Linked DNA regions of Homo sapiens: region 2 is linked to region 1. The links are contacts of gene promoters, found by promoter capture Hi-C in blood cells and fetal thymus (Javierre and others, 2016). All regions are on one chromosome and are shown on one strand. The core of a region is centred on a gene start or on the middle of the fragment in contact, and the rest is flanking DNA. Distances in the headings are between cores, read along the strand shown.

Region 1 (4,479 bases), core at 1,183-3,682:
GCTACTTTCTGCAAAGAAATTAAGTGGAAAGTCACGGCCTTGGAGTTAAACAATCTGGCATGTAATTTATATCAACATAATCTCAGGGAAATCATTTTATCTCTCCGAAAACATAATAAAATGTGGATCCTAATGTCAGAGGCATTTGAACCAGAGTGACTCCATCTTGAATAGGGGCTGGGTAAAAAGAGGCTAAGACTTGCTGGACTGCATTCCCAGAAGGTCAGGCATTTTAGTCAGAGGATGTTTACAGTTAAGAAAACAAGTTAATAATGTTTATGGAAGAGATCCAGGACTTAGCAGGTCCAGAAAATATCCTGATGTCACGATATCTTAAGAACAAAAGTATTCTTAGTTTAAGAGTAAGTTTCACTTTAAAGATAATAATATAAATTATTGTGGAAGACAGTAGTTATACAAAGATTAACAATCCTTTGTCCCAAGCCCTTGTAGTAGCGCACATCTCCCCAAGGATTGTTTTTTTTTTTGCGTTATTATCTTATATATAAACAAGCATTATACCTAAAATGGACGCATTCCTCCTCTTGCTTTTGGGCCCTACTCTCTATGGAGTAGGCATTTTTTTGTTTCTTCATTTCTGTAATAAAATTGCTTTCACTTTACTCTGTGGACTTGCCTTAAATTCTTTCTTGTGTGACATCCAAGAACCCTCTCTTGGGGTCTGGTTCGGGACCCCTTTCTGGTAACAATACCTCCTTCTTAGTGTGTGATAGAGATTTTTAAAAAAGAATGTACCAGAATATTAAAATGGGATGCTTTCTATCTCAGTTTTTGGCTGTGGCTTTAAAAGGCTGAGTAAAAAAGAGACAGAAAGAGAGAAAGTATGTGGGAAGTATTTCGTTTTGCATTCCAAAGTGAGGTGCTAGACTTATGTAGTACTTCCAAAGGAGGTTGCTACAAACTTAGTTTTTTCCAACTTCAATCCAATAAAAGGATTCATATTGAATAGCTCAGGAAGGGAGAATTTCTTGGGAGCAAGTTATTGAAAAACAATGGCATTTTCCTTCCTCCTTCATATGGGGAAAGGGCTTTGAGAAAAACACTTCGAGTTTAAAATATGTCCATTGAAGCATGGTGAACCTAATAAAATAGTGTCTATGAAATCTAAAGGGCAAGAAGCTGTGAGAATTGGCTTGATACCAGACTGAAGAGATGACTGCACCAAGAACTGCTTCACTTTCAGTAATGAGAGTCAAGGATGTGGGTTTTCTGTGGGCAGATGTAGAGCATGTGGAGAGAGTCAGCCTGGGTCAATTATAAAAGGGACCTTGCCCCAAGGGCTTTCTGTCAGGGCTGATGGGGGAAGCAAACTCATCAGGATGCTGATGGTGGTGTCAAATGCAGAAGATGAGAGAGTAGGGTGAGGATGAGGGGCATAGCAGATCTGCCAGAAGAGGAGTATTATTGGAGGTAAGGACGCCTATGTTACTATTCGCACTGGGGGTTATGTGACCCCCAGAAACATTCCAAGATGAGTCAGCTTTGAGCATTCACCAAAGCCATGAGGGCACAAAGACAGGTCATGATATTATGTCAAGTAAGACTTTGTTTTACTTCTCTGCATGCATCTCCATCCCCAGTTCTGGAGGAGACAAAAGGCAGCCTACTGTGATAGGGGAGATTGTGAATATAAACTGGCCACAAGCTCCTTCCCACTGAAGCCTTCCAGGATGAATGGGGTCCAAGCTAGGGAAAAGAGAAGCTTTATTAGTATTCATGGTTTGGGGTCACATATAAGAATGGTTATTTGAATTACTGTTATATGGTTATTTTTCTAGTACAAGTAACCATAGGGATTCTTATTATTTTGATGTGGCCAGTAGAGCCATTAATACCTGCCTTTGGGTTTACTCAAGGGGTAGGGAACAACAACTACCACTGAGTGGGTTGGAATGCATGGGGATGGGAGGAAAAGCTGTTTTTTCTGATTATGACTTATGGAGTTTTTCTCTTTCAATTAGGTGGTATAATAACAATATTCTGGAGCAAAGTGTTTCTTGACCTAAATCTACAGAATGTGTATAATTTTGCTGGCTATCTTCCCTCTGCTCTCAGATGTATGCTGCCTTTTCTCACCCTACTTTCAGTCCTAGGAGGCTGATCTTTTTGGAACATATAAATGTTCCTGTGCCCTCTGGCTTTGGTGTGGATCAAGCAATAGATAATTTGGGGAAGACAGAATAGAGGAAGAGGAGGAGAGAGGTCAGGATAATTTTCTCCTGGCCACTCCTTGCAAGACCTCTTCCCGGGAGTATGCTCCTGAAGAAAAGTCACTACTTTTCTTTTCTTTTTGTGCTTTGCTTTTTTTTTTTTTTTTTTCAGATGGTGTCCCGTTCTGTTGCCCAGGCTGGAGTGCAATGGCGTGATCTTGGCTCACTGCAACCTCTGCCTCCCGGGTTCAAGCGATTCTCCTGCCTCAGCTTCCCAAGGAGCTGGGATTACAGGCGCGTGCCACCACACCCAGCTAATTTTTATATTTTTAGTAGAGACGGGGTTTCGCTTTGCTGGCCAGGCTGGTGACAAACTCCTACCCTCAGGCGATCCACCTGCCTCGGCCTCCCAAAGTGCTGAGATTACAGGCATGAGCCACTGCACCCGGCCAAGTCACTACTTTTCTCAAGGCATCTGAAACTCTGTGACTCTCTGACTTTTGGAAACCTCTTCCTTTCTTGTCTTTTCAGGCCACCGTGGGCTGCTGTGCCATCCATTATAATCTACCTGTACCCAGAGTTTTGTAAATAGTCTTCCTTTGAAAAAACCCTCCTCAAATTTTCCTATTTCAAAGGTGACACCTATTTCTTGTTGGAACCCTAACCCAATAGCATTTCTTGCTTTACTGACCTAAAATATTAAATGGGAGAATTAAAGCAATAAGAGTTGTACAAATATTTAATAGTAATTGAATTCAAATATAGAGCACTATTATTGTTATTATTTGCAAGACATTTTTAGTGTTGTGTGAAGGAGTGAGAGAAACCATTATTTAGAAAAATTCTAGGCCAATCATCAATTTTTTTTTTTTTGAGATGGAGTTTCGCTCTTGTGACCCATGCTGGAGTGTAATGGTGTGATCTCAGCTAACTGCAACCTCCGCCTCCTGGGCTCAAGTGATTCTCCTGCCTCAGCCCCCAAGTAGCTAGGATCACAGGCATGCGCCGCCACACCCAGCAAATTTTGTATTTTTAGTAGAGATGGTGTTTCACCATGTTGGTCATGCTGGTCTCAAACTCCCAACCTCAGATGATCTGCCTGCCTCGGCCTCCCAAAGTGCTGGGATTAAGGGCATGAGCCACAGTGCCTGGCCGTCAATATCTTCTAATGTTAAAGAGTCAGTCAGATAGTAGATACTATTCTTCCAGAAAAAAGTCAGGGCGTGGTAGCTCATGCCTGTAATCCTAGCACTTTGGAAGGTTGAGGCAGGCAGATCACTTGAGATCAGGAGTCCCAGCTACTTGGTAGGCTGAGGCAGGAGAATCGCTAGAACCCGGGATGTGGAGGTTGCAGTGAGCTGAGATTTTGCCACTGCACTCCAGCTTGGGTGACAGAGCAAGACTCTGTCTCAAAAAACGAAAAAAAGAAAACAGAAATAAAATGGTAACTTCAGACTTTAAACAAGTGAATGGAAATGAGAAAAATATTTTGGGCTTCAAAGTATAGTTGAGTTAGTGTTGCCCGGAGAATTGAAGTAATTTGCACATGAATCAGAAAATGAAGCTAGTGTCCTATTCAGGTAAAAATGTGTTAAGCAATACAAAATAGGAAACAACAGGTGGTTCTTTATTTCAAGTTAATATGACCTGATATAGGGTTTTCCCTGTTTAGCTTTTTATATTTGTTTCTTTTCATTTTTGTTTTCCCTAGCTTTCATGAATTTTTTTGTTTCCATCTCCTGGTGGACCTTTTTGAAAGTAGAGTTAATTTCCTTTTTCTTTTCTGATATTTTATAGTAATATAGAATTAAATAATATGTTTTGTACCCTGGTGACTCAGAGTTTTAAAATCTGGGATTATGGAGCAATATAATTCAGGGGCCTATACGTGTAGATGGGAAAGGGTTACATCTTTAGTTCCATTAACCTGTAAATGAAAGATAGCATTTATGACCGAACGCAGTGGCTCACACCAGTAATCCCAGCACTCTGAAAGGCAGAGGTGGGCAGATCACTTGAGGCCAGGAGCTCGAGACCAGGCTGGCCAACATGGAGAAACACAGTCCCTACTAAAAATACAAAAATTAGCCAGGTGTGGTGGCAGGCACCTATAATCCCATGCCTATAATCCCAGCTACTTGGGAGGCTGAGGCAGGAGAATCACTTGAAACTGGGAGGTGGAGGGAGCAGTGAGCCGAGATCTCACCATTGCACTCCAGCCTGGGCAACAAGAGCAAAACTGCGTCTCAAAAAAAAAAAAAAATGATTTAGTCACTGCCCTTCAGCCTAGGCAACAGAGTGAGACTCC
Region 2 (4,479 bases), core at 1,980-4,479, 98 kb before region 1:
CTCAAAAAACTACTTACTATATGATCTTATTTATATAAGATTTTTGACAAGGCAAAACTACAAGGGCAGAAAACAAATCAGTGGCTGGTGGGGGCATGAAACGGGGGTTGAGAAGTTTGGGGGTTAGGAACTGTTCTGTATCTTGATTGTTGTGGTGGTTCCAAGACTACACATTTGTCAAAACTCAGAACTACACACTAAAAAGGAAGGAATTTTTATTGTATGTAAATTATTCGCTGAACTTGACTAAAACGACAAAGAAAAAGGAAAGAACCACTGATAAATAAACAAGACCGGTAATACACTGGTTCTGGTTTATTAGAAAGTCTTTACTGCTTTGTTTTTTTTCCTTTTTCTCAATGTAGGCTAAAAACTATCCTATGCACACACACTTAATGTATGTGTGTATGCTTTTTTAACGAAATGATGACAGAAGGAAATAATGATTGTTTTCTGCTTAACAGTCCTTTTAAAAGCAATATCTGAGAACTCTTGCGCTGGTTTTTAAATTCAAACACCTGGAACATTCTAGATTCAAACATCCAAGTAATCCCCAAAGTCCTTCTAAATATAAAAACTAATTATCCTTTGTAGGTCTTATCTAAGATCTAGGTTATTCTAATTTTACATTTTTGAAGCACAGGACACCTTTAAACGAGTCACCAGTTAAAAACATTAATCCAATGGCACTTCCAGTGGCTACCTCTGAAACAGCAAATATAGTTGTTTGAATGTTTGTTTTCTCCTCTATGGATCAAAGCAATTCACTTCTAAATATGCTTCTGTACCTTGGAGAACTGGGATTTCAAGCAGCATTTACTTAAGTTTAGTGGTCTCCATAACTGTTTTCTTTATGAATGAAACTCACATGTTTTTTGTCACTGAGGAAAAATTTATTTATCTCAACAAAAACTGTTAAGTCCCTAACAAGGGCTGAGGAAAGACCATGGCCTATGACTTTATTTCTCCAATACGTTTAATTTTAGAGTTTCTACCTTTAAATATTAGCCTCTTTAGAATGAATATACCAGAGAAGACATGCATTTTTGCAAGACTTTTCAGGTAGAAAAAACAGTGAGGCAAGAGTGTGACTTCCTACAGTTCACTCAGTAATTCATTTGCTGAATCAAAACTAAAAGTTGTAAAAAATTGTATGTTAACTCAGCATCCATATGATACATTATCCTTAAAATAACTATCCTCAGAAAAAGCCTTATTATTTTCATTCTACTGTCTTAAACATATGGCATATCACATAAATGAAACACATCAGAAATGAATCTTTCGCATCTACAGAACAATTTAAAAGAAAGAAGGGGAAGAGAGGGAAGGAGGAAAAGGAAAAGAGAAGGTAGGTAAAAAGAAATGGAGGGAAGAATAAGCTGTGTAAGCAACTACTCACAGTTCTAAACTTTTCTAATTCTAGGCCCCAATGTGCCAATTCCTAGCTACTTAGCCTCAGTGGTTTAATACAACTCACTTGCCCTCCCTGACCCTGGGATTTTCATCTGGAAAATAAGGAAGTTGGCCTAGAACAGTGGTTTTTAGTGCTTTCTACTCTGAAATCTCTTTTTAAAGTACCAATTAACTATGGTTTCCCACGTGTGAGTCGTCCGTTAAGTACCTGTTTAAAAAATATATATTTTACAAATTAACAGTTACATCCATTTGAAAATTCCCTTCTTCATTCAAAAAAGTAATGCAAGTCTACATATGGCAATATACTATTTTCTTCCCTTTTGTGAAAGCCATTTTTGGTGCACATATGAATTCAGACAGTTCTTTCAACAACTCCATGCATTCTATACCACAGCAAAGATCATGTTCATGTACCATGGAAAATTTTTTTTTATTGTGGAAATACCCTCAACACAACATGTGGCACACAGCAGATATGCAAATTATCTAAGATTCCTTCCTGCTCCCAAATTGAGTGATATTGCTTTGTACTTAGAACAAAAAATTAAACCTATTATTACTCAAGTAAAAATCAAAAACACAAAATAGCATTTAGAAAATTTTACTAAAATTCTATTCTTAATGATTATCTCCAAAGTCAGAAAAGAAAGCAACAAATTACTTTCTTTAATTTTTCTATGTAATACATATCTATGTTGAATGAATTCTATTTACAAGACATACCTATAAAAAATTAGAAAAAAATTCGAAGTTTTTATAAATTTAATGCTGGTATAAATAAGTGATACACACAGTTTAAAAGGTATTATCTCTGCCTTTTAAAAGCTTATACTCTGAAAAAGAATACAAAATAATTATGCCAGAGACAAGATTCCTAAACCAACAGAGAATAATAATGTATTCATTCATTCACTCATTCATTTATTCACACATGCAAATATTTACTGAATAGTTGCTGATTACATAAAAGACATTCATCCAAATGAGGGTACAGCAAGATAACTAAGACATAAACCTCCTAGCTCCAAGAGATCCAGCCAGGGTCTCATTAAAAACCAACAACCAAAACAAAAACTGTTATGGAATTTTGAAAAACAGGGAAAGTGGGTTTGCCGTGTAGCCAGATATATGTACATCTCATGGACACTGCCATCTGTTTAGATGCCTAGTGTGCATGTGATAAGCTCTAAATTTCTTAGACTACTGGGTTCACTGATGGTACCAGACATAATTTTATATCTTTCCCCCTTGAAGGTCTGGATGTACGCCATTAACTTAATTTAACACATTATGCCACTGGAGTGCCCTGAACCTAAAATAAATCAGTGCTTTCTAGGTATGTTTCCTTTTACAGACATTTCTAAAAATGTATTAAATTGTATCTTTCACTAAAGAAAAAGGATTTGCTCCCAGAATAGCTAGCTACCTGTACTTCAAGAAGTAAGTCACTCCTAGGTAAACTGATTTCAGATGTTAAGCACACACATGCACACCAACACACACAGAATTCACCAACTTTGAGACAGTGGAACTTTCCACCTAAAGAATGTAAGAATTGAACATAAAAATGAGATTGAGAGAACTGCTGTAAGGAAAGAAAAATAAAGATTAACACTTGGAGAAAATAGGAGAGGTTGAAAGCATGCACTGCATGGCTAAAAGTGGTAAAGCTCTAATGCTTAAGAAATTGCAAAGAAGTTGATGAAACGCCAAAATGTCTAGAAAGGCCTCGATCAACATCTTGGTTAGAGAGGGCTAAATGGCAAAATTACAGCAAGTGGACAATTCATTTACCGATACAGGAACTTGGAGAGCAAAAGGAAGTAGGGAGTCTTGATTGCTGGTTCAGAAAAGAAAAATTCAATGAAGAAGCTAAAACTGACCCCCTGAAAAATGTAAGTTTGTCAACTGATTAAAAGTTTTTTACAAAAATATGTTTCCAGCTCTGAACTCCAAGAAACTTTCAGAATATTGTTGAAACATGCCTGTTCCTTTCCCTAACATTCGCAAATTGCATTTTGCATTTCAGTTATAGACCTACTGAAGTTTAAAATGGCTGGAAATTATTTCAAATCTAGAACCTCAAATGTTTCAGAAGAAATAGAGTATTATTCCTGAATATTGGCAACAGCGTTTTCCATTACAAAAAGTATACAGATGTTCCAAACACACTTTTAACCAGAAAAAATGATGTGTTGACACTTAGTTGACTTGATTCTTTTCACCTACATATGAACTCAATCATTTCCCTTTGTCTCCCAGTTTAAGAGATTTACCAAGGTATAAATACTACCATAGGTGTATGTGTGTGTGTTTTTTCAAAAGGTCTGTCCAAATGATGAATATTTTTGACTTCCTTAAAAACTAAGTAAGCAAGCATTAGATTTCAACCTAGGAAAGAAGATTTTTAAATATCCCCTTACCCTAATGTCAGCTGCTACCCACGACCTCTATTGAAATGTTCACGACAAAAGGTCACAGGGTGCCCCATCCCCTCCTAAACAGCAATGGAAACGGGCACACACTCACTGCACTATTCTTCTTAATCTCTATTGGAATCTACCCCATGATACCAAATTGAATATAAATTGTAACTGCATATATATCTATCAAAAGTTTAAATTAAAAAGTAGAGGAGACAGATACAGGGATTTTTTTGAATGGGGTTCAAAAATCTGCATCAGAATATTAAACTAATTACTACTACTAACCCTTCTCAAATGAAGTTGGAGTTTCAATATTACCACAGTCTCAATGTTTGCACATGTTTTACCCTATCAGGGGCACAAGCTTCATTCTCTTTAATTAGGATAAAGACACTGTTAGGGAGTAACTGGGCCATAATTAAGAGTTATATTAGGGAAGGATACACTTTATTAGACTTGAATACTTCTCAGATCAAAAACTTCACCACCATTAGTAGGACATTCCTAGTATAATACATCACTTCCTTTGATGATCTTGGAACTAGAAAAGTCAGATGTTTACAAAGACAGTGATCTCATCGATTCCTGACCACCTTCAAAATTAATATTTAATTGTAACTTAATGAAAGAGCCA

What was found. The method cuts DNA at HindIII sites, captures the fragments that hold promoters and counts their contacts. A CHiCAGO score of 5 or more calls a contact.
Region 2: a fragment that was not itself captured here is called in contact with the fragment with the promoter of OSTN-AS1 in region 1 in 1 of 17 cell types (total B cells); the score reaches 5.2 in total B cells.

The regions. Positions count from the first base shown.
Region 1 is chr3:191,232,558-191,237,036 of GRCh38, reverse strand. OSTN-AS1 (OSTN antisense RNA 1) reads left to right here and starts at 2,432. Exons shown (of 6, transcript NR_133663.1): 1 at 2,432-2,465. The region is part of intron 3 of OSTN (osteocrin); the gene reads right to left. The HindIII fragment of the contact is 7,111 bases long and covers 1,726-4,479 here.
Region 2 is chr3:191,331,551-191,336,029 of GRCh38, reverse strand. The region is part of intron 1 of CCDC50 (coiled-coil domain containing 50); the gene reads right to left. It also overlaps a transcript of UTS2B not described here. Among named protein-coding and RNA genes, the nearest start is that of UTS2B, 3.3 kb to the right of the region's middle. The HindIII fragment of the contact is 1,965 bases long and covers 2,247-4,211 here.